3 separate regions of the Homo sapiens genome follow, and regions 1 and 2 are each linked to region 3. The links are contacts of gene promoters, found by promoter capture Hi-C in blood cells and fetal thymus (Javierre and others, 2016). All regions are on one chromosome and are shown on one strand. The core of a region is centred on a gene start or on the middle of the fragment in contact, and the rest is flanking DNA. Distances in the headings are between cores, read along the strand shown. Region 1 has its middle 24 kb from the start of PDCD6IP-DT. Region 2 overlaps CLASP2 (cytoplasmic linker associated protein 2). Region 3 holds the start of CRTAP (cartilage associated protein).

What was found. The method cuts DNA at HindIII sites, captures the fragments that hold promoters and counts their contacts. A CHiCAGO score of 5 or more calls a contact.
Region 1: a contact is called between a fragment that was not itself captured here and the fragment with the promoter of CRTAP in region 3, in 4 of 17 cell types (endothelial precursors, naive CD4 T cells, naive B cells and 1 more). The highest score is 6.8, in endothelial precursors.
Region 2: a contact is called between a fragment that was not itself captured here and the fragment with the promoter of CRTAP in region 3, in 1 of 17 cell types (erythroblasts). The highest score is 6.3, in erythroblasts.

The regions. Positions count from the first base shown.
Region 1 is chr3:33,772,733-33,777,171 of GRCh38, forward strand. No RefSeq gene overlaps it. Among named protein-coding and RNA genes, the nearest start is that of PDCD6IP-DT, 24 kb to the right of the region's middle. The HindIII fragment of the contact is 411 bases long and covers 1,196-1,606 here.
Region 2 is chr3:33,653,588-33,657,559 of GRCh38, forward strand. The region is part of intron 7 of CLASP2 (cytoplasmic linker associated protein 2); the gene reads right to left. Among named protein-coding and RNA genes, the nearest start is that of CLASP2, 63 kb to the right of the region's middle. The HindIII fragment of the contact is 1,627 bases long and covers 1,028-2,654 here.
Region 3 is chr3:33,110,955-33,115,270 of GRCh38, forward strand. CRTAP (cartilage associated protein) reads left to right here and starts at 3,060. Exons shown (of 7, transcript NM_006371.5): 1 at 3,060-3,594. The coding sequence starts at 3,124. RefSeq lists enhancers at 681-890, 3,771-4,316 and silencers at 2,890-3,189, 3,630-3,819. The HindIII fragment of the contact is 4,978 bases long and covers 2,463-4,316 here.

The sequences.
Region 1 (4,439 bases), core at 151-2,650, 660 kb after region 3:
CACTGCACTTCAGCCTGGGTGACAGAGCAAGACCATGTCTCCTCAAAAAAAAAAAAAAAAAGTGTATTGATGAATATTTGATAGACTACTATTATTTTTTCATAAACTTTAAAAAAGTATCATATTATTGGTATTTAGGGATTGGAAGTTTCTTAAAATTTTGAGTAAGGAATAAAATTTGTTGAGTTAAAAATGACAATGTGTGGAATTGATAAGGATGTAGAAAATACATACTATCAATAGTCTGCTGCTAAGGATACAAATTGGTACTAAATTTCTGGAAGGCAACTTGGTAGTATACATCAAGATTTTAAAAATGTATGTAATAATTGACTTAACAGTTTTAATTCTAGAAATATAGCCTAAGAAAATAATTGAATCCATGTGCAAAGTTCTTTGTTTATTGTATCACTATTTCTTCATTTAGAAACTATACTGTAAGCAGTGTGAATTTTTGACAGCATTAAGTTTGACATTCACACAAAGACATACCCGGTGGCCATAATGATATTCATTATCATGGAAAGATGTCTAAAATATACTATTGGTGAAAAAATCAGGTATCAAACAGCATTTATGGACTAATCCCACTGAAATCATAGAGTTCATTCTTTCCTTATTTTTTGCATTTTTGCAGTGCACATGTGTTATCACTTCTCTGCCTTTTGGCTAAGATCAAGTGCGGTGCACATGTGTTATATTTATAATCATAAAAATCAGTAAAGCTATTTCCATCTTAAAGAAAAAGATCCCTCACTTTGCAATAATGAGTGGTTATGCCTCCCGGCCTTGTCTTCTTTAACTACTAGACAAGATTCATGCCTTGGAATTCCTCTGAACTTCCCTACTACACTACATTACAAGGAAGGCAATGTGGGTATCTCCCTCCTCCGTGACAACTTAAGAGATGCAAGGTCAGGGCACAGGTCACAACAGAGAGGGACACTGATGGCCAATTCTGGGGCCTCTCATCAGTTGTCCCATTCCAGGTTTTTAGGTAGAGGGCTGCTTTGCTGCTTCAAGGTTAAGCTTGCCTAATACTCCTCTAGGAGCTTTAACGAGCTAAGCACAAATCACTCCACTGAACTCACCAAATGCTATGCCTCCCTCAGCCTTGCAGACTTTCCCAATCCACTGACATCACTCTACTAAGCCAGTCCATCCCATCCCCCCTGTTCTGGGAGAATCCTACATAAGCTTTCTTCAAGTGGTCTCTAAAACCATTTTTGGCCTCACTTTATTAGAGGAGAAGGAGGCGCTTGCTGATATCAGTATTTCTTACCAACTCTGTTTCCATCACAGTAAGTATCAGGTATGCTAAAAGCATGTGTTTGCCTGGAAAAAAGTTCCTTTTACTTAGCTGCTCTAGGGTATCTCTATGATTTTGTTCTGCAACCTTAAGGATGATATAACTAAAAAGTAGGAGTATAGAACATCCCCAGGTTTAACATAAGCTGCATTAATTATTATAACCTTCCCTCCTCCCAGCCAAATAAAAAATCAGACTCAGAAACCCCACTGATCTTATGCATGTTGGTACTCCCACATAGTTTACTTTTAATACATGTCTATTAGATATCATTATATAAAGTTAACATTGCAGGGAAGCTTAAATGTGTCATTTGTACACCATGGTTGGATCTTGATATGCTGGATATTTTTTAAAAAGGCTCTACTACAACCAAAGTTAGATCCAAATCCATAAACAGGTAGATAACATTTCTTTTTTATTTTTTTGAGACAGTCTCACTCTGTTGCCCAGGCTAGAGTGCAGTAGCATGATCTCAGCTCACTGCATCCTCTGCTTCCTGGGTTCAAGCGATTCTCCTGTCTCAGCCTCCTGTGTAGCTGGGATTACAGGCAAGTGCCACCATGCATGACTAATTTTTGCATTTTTACTAGAGATGGGGTTTCACCATGTTGGCTATGCTGGGCTCCAACTCCTGACCTCAAGTGATCCACCCACCTCGGCCTTCCAAGGTGCTAGGATTAGAGGCATGGGCCACCACACCTGGCCACATAGGTAAAATTTCGATGTATTAAGAGAAAAGGCTGGGGGCAGTGGCTCATGCCTGTAACTTTAGGAGGCTAAGGCGGGTGGATTGTTTGAGGCCAGGAGTTCGAGACCAACCTGGGCAACATGGCAAAACCCCGTCTGTACTAAAAATACAAAGAAGAAAATATTAGCTGGTCGTGGTGGTGTGCGCCTATAGTCCCAGCTGTTCGGGAGGCTGTGGCACAAGAATTGCTGGAACCCAGGTGGTGGAGGTTGCAGTGAGCCGAGACCTCACCACTGCACTCCAGACTGGGTGACAGAGTGAGGCTCTTTCTTAAAAAAAAAAAAAGAAGAAAAATTGCATTCTACACAGAGCACTTAAGTTCATAATTCTGTGAGAGAAGTATTTATATAAGACTAAAAAAATTATAGTAATCAGGAGAAAAGAAAAAAGTGGAAAATTTGTTTGCCTCAAAATTGCCAACCCTGGGCATATTTCATAAAGCTTCTACAAAAAATGGTTTACGAAGCTGAAAATAAATGTGACTGAATCCTAGATTATAAAAATTAGGCAAATCTCAGTCTTTGGAATTATCTATTATGTGCTTTTTCACACTGACTCTGGGACAGTCTGAAGTTGGTAGTGTCTGTTAAGCTCCTCTAGCTTGCCAATCCAGGTGCCTGGTACCTTCCCAGAACTGCCTTTTTCATGTGACCCTGATATTCATTCCTTTCCCAGTGCTCTTCCTGGGTAACCTGAAAAATAGCCCCAGGATAGTGAAAAGTAGTCTTCTTTCTCATCCAGAGATTAAGTGCATTTTAAGCATGGTCATCTTCTAAAGGAATGAATCATCCTAATCAGGAAAATCTGAGGCACCAGAACAAGTAGTTATATTTTGCTCGGAAATGCTTTTAGGGATACTGAATGAGGTGGTATGTACCCATAACGCCAGCTACTGGGGAGCCTGAGGCAGGAGGATTGCTTAAGTCCAGGTGTTTGAGACCAACCTGGACAACATAGCGTCAAAAACATTTTTTTGAGACCCTGTCTCAAAAAAAAAAAAAAGGAAAAAAAAAAAAGGAAATGCCTTTAGGTGCTCCTTTATATTGTTGTGAGTTTTGTTCCCATGAGACAGGCTCTATAGTATCTGGCTCTTTTCCTAAGCACTGCAAGAAAGCTAAACACAGGTCACTCTGCCAGGCCTACCAAAGTATGTCCTCAGTCTTCCCTACCGCAACATCACTCCCTACCAAGATAGCCCACCCCACCATCTCACACTGGGAAGATTCTGTTTAAGTTTTCTTGAATCTTTAGAAACAATTTTGGCCTCTCTGCTGGGGGAAGGAGTAGAGAATGCTGTTATCTGGGGACTGATACTTCCGTTTGTTCAGAGGAATAGCTCAGTGGACTACCATTCTTGGTAATGGTATAGTTGACCCTTGGAAAACATGAATGTGAACTGCACAGCTCTACTTATATGTGGATTTCTGCCACCCCAGGAAGAGCAAGACCAATCCTTCTTCTTTCTCCTCTTTCTCAGCTACTCAAAGTGGAAGATGAGGAGAATAAAGACCTTTATGATGATCCACTTCCAGTTAATCAATAGTAAATATATTTTCTCTTCCTTATAATTTTACTAACATTTTCTTTTCTCTAACTTACTTTATTGTAAGAATACAGTATATGTGTTATATACTGTATATAATACATGTTATATGAAATATGTTTTAATCAACCATTTATGTTATCAGTAAGTCAATAGTAAGCTATTAGTCATTAAAAGTTTAGGGAGTCAAAAGTTATAGGCAGATTTTCCACTGTGCAGGAATAAGCGCCTCTAACTCTGTGTTGTTGAGGGGTTAACTGAAATTCCTACAAATTTTCATGAAAAGTTTAATTACTTTTTGTGTGTTTCTGAACATAGGCTCCCTCTTGTGGTTCATAGGATATATGATATATAAGAGATAGGAAATTTTATCTGCATTTTTGCAGTTGCAAAGATTACTTGGGCACTGGTAGAAAGATGATTATAGCTGAAGGCATTGATGATTTTTTTTTTTTGAGACGGAGTCTCGCTCTGTTGCCCAGGCTGGAGTGCAGTGGTGCAATCTCAGCTCACTGCAACCTCCGCCTCCCGGGTTCAAGCGATTCTCCCGCCTCAGCCTCCCCAGTAGCTGGGACTACAGGCGCATGCCACCACGCTCAGCTATTTTTTGTATTTTTTTAGTAGAGACGGGATCTCACCGTGTTAGCCAGGATGGTCTCGATCTCCTGACCTCGCGATCCACCTGCCTCGGCCTCCCAAAGTGCTGGGATTACAGGCGTAAGTCATCGTGCCTGGCCTGCACTGATAATTTTTAAATGAGTAATGTAAAGACCTAAGTTAACTTATTTAAGAATTATGCTTGTATGAAGACCCAGTAGGCAAGAAATTATAGCATT
Region 2 (3,972 bases), core at 591-3,090, 540 kb after region 3:
GTTAAACTTTTAGGTGTGACAATGGTATTGTAACTGTCTTTCTAAAAGACACTTTATTTGATATACATGATGAGTACCATGTGCACATACACACACATCTTAGTCCAGCAGGATAGCAGGGCTGGGAAAAGATGGGGTAGGGATCTAGATGAATAAATACTAGTCATGTATTGATAATTTCTTGAAACTGGATGATAAGTAGTAATGGAAATTCATTATAATACTATTTCTGGGTATGTCTGAAATGCTTCATTAAAAAATTATAATAATTTTAATCACTTTACTCCCTTGCTTAAAATCCTGCACTGGAATCCCAATAAAATAACTCAAAAGGGTAAAGAAAATAAGACGAGGGTGGAATACGTGAAATCAGCATCTAAAAAATCACAATGAATTCTTAAAAGATGCAAAAAAAGAAGGCACATTCCCTTTGCTCTGAACTGTCAAAAAAAAAAAAAAAGAACGAACAGCTACTGAAGAATAACACCGTTAACACCACAGTAAAGCCACAACTTGTGATTCTCAGAAGCTAAAACAGCAGAGAATTTATCTACCTTGCAGAATAACAGAGAAGTGACTATTTCTAAGCCAGAAAGTACAGGGATGAGCACAAGGAGCAACTGAAAATCTACGGAATCGTTTTATCAAACTCTTTCCCATCCCTGATTCAGGGAACACAACATTTTACACACAAATGTGCACATGAGTGCACACACACACAGGATTTTGTGGAAATGGAACCACGGAAAAAGGAAAAAGCAAGTTCTTGGACACATTTAAACTTTTGTTTGTCAAAGTTAAAATTTAATAGAAGGATTGGGTGAGAAAGTCAAGGATATCTCCCAGAATATAGAATAAGAGAAAGACATAAAACTTGAAAGCGAAGACAAAACATAAAAGACAGAGGATCAACCCAGGAAGTTCAATATCTGAATAACAATTAGGTAAGAAAAGACTAAACTAATAAAGGGGAAAAGCTTACGAAAAAATAATAGGAGAAAACTTCCCAGAGCTAAAGAAAATCACAAGCTTTCAGAAGTAAAAGAATCAAATAGTAAAAATTTAAAACATCTTCAATTTAAACTAAAATGAAAAAATTTAGTAAAATTATTAGAAATTGAAAATTCAAGGACTTCAAAAATAAGACAACTGGCTATATTTTAATATTCACATGCAGATGCAGTATTCTCAGCAGCACAACCTTAGTTAACTATTTTATTTATAAGAAATAAAGTCAGTTCTATACAAAGTTTAATAGAGGCCATGATAATTGATAAAGTATCTTGAAATTTCTAGGTAGATATAACTGACTAGTTAAAAATATATTTGAAGACTTTTGCCCTTTTATTTAAAGGGGTCCCTTAAAAATTCAAGACTTTGAACAGTCCAATGAAGTAACGGGACAATCACAATTTAAACCATTATTTGGTATTAATGAAATTAAATAACACATGCCATAATAGCCATAACAGCAAACTAAATAATAAATGAGGCTCAGAATCAGGTTTATTTAGAACCTTTACAAAATTTAGTCATTTCAACTACTTAAATTTTCAAGACAGTTTAGCCTACTGCAGCTTTAAGAACATCAATTGTACTATTCTATATGTACAAAGAAAACATGTAAACCTTTTCTTGAAGATTCAAGTTTATTAGCAACATCAGGTTTGAGGATATGTTACTATTGGTGCCCAACCCCCTGCACCCGTTAAATGAGACTGCCTTAGAAGGACACTATTTATTCAAAGGTACAGTATATTCACTTAGATGCCCTTAACACAGACCTAAAACACAGGATGGTTGTACAACACCTTCAATGGCTACAGCAGGAAGGTACCATAGGGTGGCTTTATTTTAGTCATTGTCTATTTTCAATCTTAGTGCCTGCTACTTACTGCCTGTATTACTGCTAATGCCCAATCTTCTGTCTCTTGTAATTTACTTTTTCACCTTATAGACTTCTTTTCCCTCTATCAATGTCCCTACAAGAAAAGTTAGCCTTCTTGCCAGTAAGTCAAATGGTTGCTTTCTTTCATTAATTTAAATTACCTGATCCCAGTGTATCACAAAGAATATTCAACAGCATGGAAGAAGAGAGATCTATTTAGTACTAATTTATTGCTATTGTTCTATAAACAATTGTAAATCAAGTTTTATATATATATACACACATACCAAGTTATATATTAGTTTGGTGTAGTCCCAGAAGGCTGGTCTCTAGAAAGCCATGGTTATATCATCACTTTTATATATATTTTTAAAGACTCATTTTTGGAATAATAGACTGTGCTGAAATGTTAAAAGTTTAGAAAGAATCTATTTACAACAAAACCTTATTTCTTTCCAGCCACTCTGCAGCATAACAACAAAAGGCCAAATTCCTCTTGCCCGCTTTTTGAGGCAGACTGCAGGGCTCAGCACCACATAATAATCCTACAGGTTTTTAACTCTATCTGGTTTGATTGCCCAGAGCTACTGCATGATTATCTGACTACTTGATTTAATACTCATGGGTAAGGGTGAGGACAACTAAATTGAAAAGCCCCCCAAACCCACCCTCAATTCATAAGTGAAAGCCATTATAGTGCTTCACAAACCCAAGTTTGCCTAGAAATAAAACTGCTAATGAAATCTTTCACATGGTCTTGAAGTTAAGCTTACATAACATATTCAATAGATAATAGATTAATAACTGGAATATATAAAAAGCAAGTATAAATAAACAACCACAAAAAGGTCAAACAACCAAAAAGTTGGCTACAATGCTGAAAGGCATCTACAGAGAAGGAAATATAAATAACCAAACACATGAAGGTGATCAATCTTATCAGAAAGCATAGATGTTTATAAAGGGTGAGATATTTTTCAACCATCTGATAGACAAATTTTAATAATAACCAGAACTGAAAAGAATGTAGGACAGCAGACACTACTGGTGGGAGTGTATGTGGTAAAGCCTCTTTTGGAGCAAATTAGCTATACCTAACACAATTCTAAAATAAATGAAAACTTTGATTCAGAAATTCCACGTCCAGACTATTTTAAGAAATATATCTGTGTGTATATACACAAACACATGTAGTTTGTACAAAGGTGCTTATTTCAGAACCATTTAGAAAAATTATATATAGTAAACAAATTTCTATAGAAGACAAAATGGTTATGATATGTCCATATTATAGAATACTATGCAACCGTTTTAAAAAATGATGCGAAATAACACGATAGTATTTTTTTAAAAAGCTCCATCCCATACTGAGTAAACACAGCAAATGGCAAAATTACATTCAGAATGGTATCATTTACGTAAACACAGTCAAAGCAAAACCATATACTTTGATATTTAGTATGTATGTAAAGGCACAGTAACAGGTAGAAAAAGACATGCTACGTATTAATAAAAGTGTTCTCCTCTGTTTACACCTGGGCTCGGGGCTTGAAGGTGGTTTTGAAGGGATTTTTGCTTTACCTTCATTGTTTGAATTTTGAAAGGGAAATGACATTTGTATATTCGTAAATAAACAAAGTTTGTAAGTTCGTAAATAAACAAAAAACATCAGGTAGGGGCAGTATAATCCATTTGTTTTATATGTTCATGTTTTATATGTTTACATGATTCTGGTATAGTGTATGTGCACTGGATGTGACAAAGACTAATACGCAGGAGTATATATCAAACTGTTAAGAACTATATAAATCCCAAGACAGCCTATCACTATATACATATCTTTATTGTTTAAATTTTTTATAAAGGTATATATTTTTGAAGAAGAGAATTAGCTGAAATGTTACCCTCTGATCTTTGTCAGAGGTTGTTACTTTTTTAAAAATAATTAATATATTCCTCAACAGTCCAAATGTTATGTATTATTTGAAAAAAGAAAAACTAAGTAAATATAAAACTATAACCATTGAACCTAAAATGTTTAAGAAATAAAATAAAATCTGGATATGGCCCACACCAAATGCAAC
Region 3 (4,316 bases), core at 1,810-4,309:
CCCCCAGATTGAACTGTTATTTGTAGCTCTAATTCTTTCATTTTCCCTGCTATAATATATTCTTCTATATGCATTTACTCTCATTTTTTTTTAAATCTACTCTTCTGTTTATGGACAGGTTATTCCTGCTTTCTGCCATTAAGAACAATGTTGCGTTACCTTACTGTAGACACTTGTTAATTACAAAAGAAAACAAATGAAGTAGGGAAAACAGACATCACCTTAATAAAGTGATCAAAATTAACACAGACAAGGGGTGGGCATTGTGTTATTTAGATTTTACACCTGAGACGGATGGCACATTGCTTCTGTGGCATTCTAGCCAAAGAGCTTAATCTGAATTTAGTCATGAGCTTAATCTGAATTTAGTCATGAGCTTAATCTGAATTTAGTCATGAGGAAACATCAGGAAAACCTCAAATGAGGAACTTTTTATAAAGTTAACTGGCCTGTGTTCTTTAAAAAAAAAAAAAAAAAAAGGCCAGGCGCGGTGGCTCATGCCTGTAATCCCAGCACTTTAGGAGGCCGAGGCAGGTGGATCATGAGGTCAGGAGTTTGAGACCAGACTGACCAATACGGTGAAACCAGTCTCTACTAAAAATACAAACATTAGCCTGGCATGGTGGCACGGGCCTGTAATCTTAGCTACTCAGGAGGCTGAGGCAGGAGAATCGCTTGAACCCTGGAGGTGGAGATTGCAGTGAGCTGAGATCATGCCATTGCACTCCAGCCTCTGCAGCAGAGCGAGACTCCATCTCAAAACAAAACAAAAAACAAAAAAAAGACTTTATTTTTTAGAGTGGTTTTAGATTCATAGCGAAACTGAGCGGAAACTACAGAGTTCAAATATACTCCATGACCCTACAACATGCGCAAGCTCCCCCACTGTCAATGTCTTGCACTAGAATGGTACATTTGTTACAATCAATGAACCTACATCAACACATCGTTATCACCCAAAGTCCGGTTTACATTAGGGCTCACTCTTAGTGTTGTACATATTATGGATTTTAACAAATGTATAGCATATATCCACCATTATACTATCATATAGAATAGTTTCACTGCTCCAATAATCCTGTCCTCTACCCATTCATTCCTCCCTTTCCATAATTCTCAGCAACCACTGATCCTTTTACTGTCTCCATAGTTTTGCCTTTTCCAGAATGTCATTTGGCTGGAATCACACAGTATGTAGCCTTTTCAGTTTGGCTTCTTTCAACCAGTAATATGCATTTAAGACTTCTCCATGTCTTTTCATGGCTTGATAGCTCATTTCTTTTTGGCTTGGAATAAAATTCCATTGTGTGTATATACCACAGTTTATGTATCCACTTACCCACTGAAGGACATCTTGGTTGATTCCAAGTTATGGTAATTGTGAATAAAGTTGCTACAAACATCCATTCGCAGGTGTGTGCATAAGTTTTAACCCATTTGGGTAAATACCAAGAAGTGCAATTTCTGGATTGTATGAGTAGAGTATGCCTAGTTTTGTAAGAAACGGCCCAACTGTCTTCTAAACTGTATGTACCATTTTGCATTGCCACTATCAATGAATGAGAGTTCCTGTTGCTCCACATCCTTGTCAGCATGTGACGTTGTCAGTGTTTTGGATTTTGTAGTGGTATCTCATTGCTGTTTTGGCCTATATTTTTCAAAAATGACAACGGCATGACAAGAAAAGCCGAGGAACCAGTTTAAAGGATATGAAATAGACTAGATGTAACAGTGATCACGGATGGACTGCATCCTAAGAGAAAAAAGTGCCATGAAAGACATAATTGGAACAGCTGACATAACCGGAAATGGAACATGATTAAAGTCTTCTATCAGTATTAAATTTCCTAAATTTGATTGTCTGGTAGTTTCATTCTTAGGACATACATACTGAAAGACTAAGGGGTTGGGCACGGTGGCTCACGCCTGTAATCCCAGCACTTTGGGAGGCAGAGGCAGGTAGATCACCTAAGGTCAGGAGTTCAAGAACAGCCTGGCCAACATGGCAAAACCTCATCTCTAGTAAAAAATAGAAAAATTAGCCAGGTATGGTGGTGTGTGCCTATGATCCCAGCTACTCGGGAGGCTAAGGCAGGGAGAATTGCTTGAACCCGGGAGGCGGAGGTTGCAGTGAGCCGAGATCGCGCCACTGCACTCCAGCCTGGGTGACAGGGCGAGACTCCGTCTCAAAAAAAAAAAAAGGAAAAAAAAAAAGAAAAAAAAAAGACTAACGGACAGTGGGCCTGATACATGCAACCTATCTCAAATGAGTCAGAAAAAAATGTAAAGATAGAAATGTGGTATAACGTTAGCAACTTGTGAATCTTGATGAAGGGTATATAGGAACTTTTTGTACTGTTTTTGCAGCTTTCTTGTAAATTATTTCAAGATTTAAAAGTTTAAAGATTTTTTAAAAGTGCTGCCATTAACATTCCATCCATATTTTTTGATGCACACGCGCAAGCTTCTCCAGCATATTCCACCGAATGGTGTTGCAGATTCATAAGGTGTGCACATCTTCAACCTGACTAGCTATACAGTTTACAAAGTGCTGACATCCTTATTAATTTTATTTTTGCACTGTCTTTTTCTCTCACTAAAATTTAAGGTTGGGCAGTGCTATTAAAAGTGCGGCCCTTGGGCCCGCAGCATTAGCCTCATCAGGGTGCTGGTTAAACACACAAATCGTCAGACCTCCACCCCAGACTTTCTGAATCAGAAACTCTGGGGGCACAGCCCAGGAATCTTCGTTTTCACAAACCTCCAAACGAATATAAAGATCGTAGATTATATAGACCGTAGGGCCGATGTATATAATCTATTAGGGCCGCGTCGGCCTTGCAGGCGGGTCTCCAAGTGAATGAGCGGCAGAGTCCCATCATGCGCATCAGCCTGCGTGAACCAGTGCGCAGCGCGCCTTTCCCGGGCACCCTCTAGGTGCTGGCAGCTGGCGCCCAGATCCCCCGGCTGGGTGGGGAGGGGCGGCCGGACGGGGCGGGCCGGAGGCTGGCGTCCCCGCCCCGAAAGCACTGGGCCCGCCGCGTCGCACCGTCCTCTTTCCTTTCCTTCTCCCTCCCCTTTTCCCTTCCTTCGTCCCTTCCTTCCTTCCTTTCGCCGGGCGCGATGGAGCCGGGGCGCCGGGGGGCCGCGGCGCTGCTAGCGCTGCTGTGCGTGGCCTGCGCGCTGCGCGCCGGGCGCGCCCAATACGAACGCTACAGCTTCCGCAGCTTCCCACGGGACGAGCTGATGCCGCTCGAGTCGGCCTACCGGCACGCGCTGGACAAGTACAGCGGCGAGCACTGGGCCGAGAGCGTGGGCTACCTGGAGATCAGCCTGCGGCTGCACCGCTTGCTGCGCGACAGCGAGGCCTTCTGCCACCGCAACTGCAGCGCCGCGCCGCAGCCCGAGCCCGCCGCCGGCCTCGCCAGCTATCCCGAGCTGCGCCTCTTCGGGGGCCTGCTGCGCCGCGCGCACTGCCTCAAGCGCTGCAAGCAGGGCCTGCCAGCCTTCCGCCAGTCCCAGCCCAGCCGCGAGGTGCTGGCGGACTTCCAGCGCCGCGAGCCCTACAAGTTCCTGCAGTTCGCTTACTTCAAGGCAAGTCCGCCTCGCCCCGTCCCAGGCCCCGGCCCCGCCCCTGACCCAGCCTCCAGGCCCTAGCCCCGCCCCTGCGCCCGGGGCCGCGTTGCCCCTCCAGTTCTAGACCTGGCTCCCTCCCATCCAGCCCTGCCAAAGGTCTCCTCCAAGTCCTGTCTCCTTCTTCATCTCAACTAGAGATGAAAATGCCTTTCTTGAAGGGTAACTCTAAGGTAGAGAATACGTACACAGAACGCAGTACAGCGCCAGGCACCCAACAAAGTGCCTGATAAATGTTCTCTGTTATTTGAGGGCAGACGCCTCTTTTCTGTATATACCATTAAAGTCGCCTTTTTTCTCAAGTGAGCGGTGACTTGCGATAATAAAGCAGAAGACCTGAGGAGCCGACAAGTACCTTTTATTTTTATTTTTTGTTGAGACAGGGTCTCACAGTCGCCCAGGCTGGAGTGCAGAGGCGCTATCATGGCTCACTGCAGCCTTGACCTCCTCAGGCTCAGGTGATCCTCCACCTCAGCCTCCTGAGTAGCTGGGATTATAGGCGCGCGCCACCACACCTAGCTAATTTTTTGGTATTTTCTGTAGAGACAGAGTTTCGCCACGTTGCCCAGGCTGATCTCGAACTCCCGGACTCAAGTGATCCTCCCACCTCGCCTCCCAGAGTTCTGGGATTACAGTCGTGAGCCATTGCACCCAGCTGACTAGTTCCTTTTAAAGAGGATGAA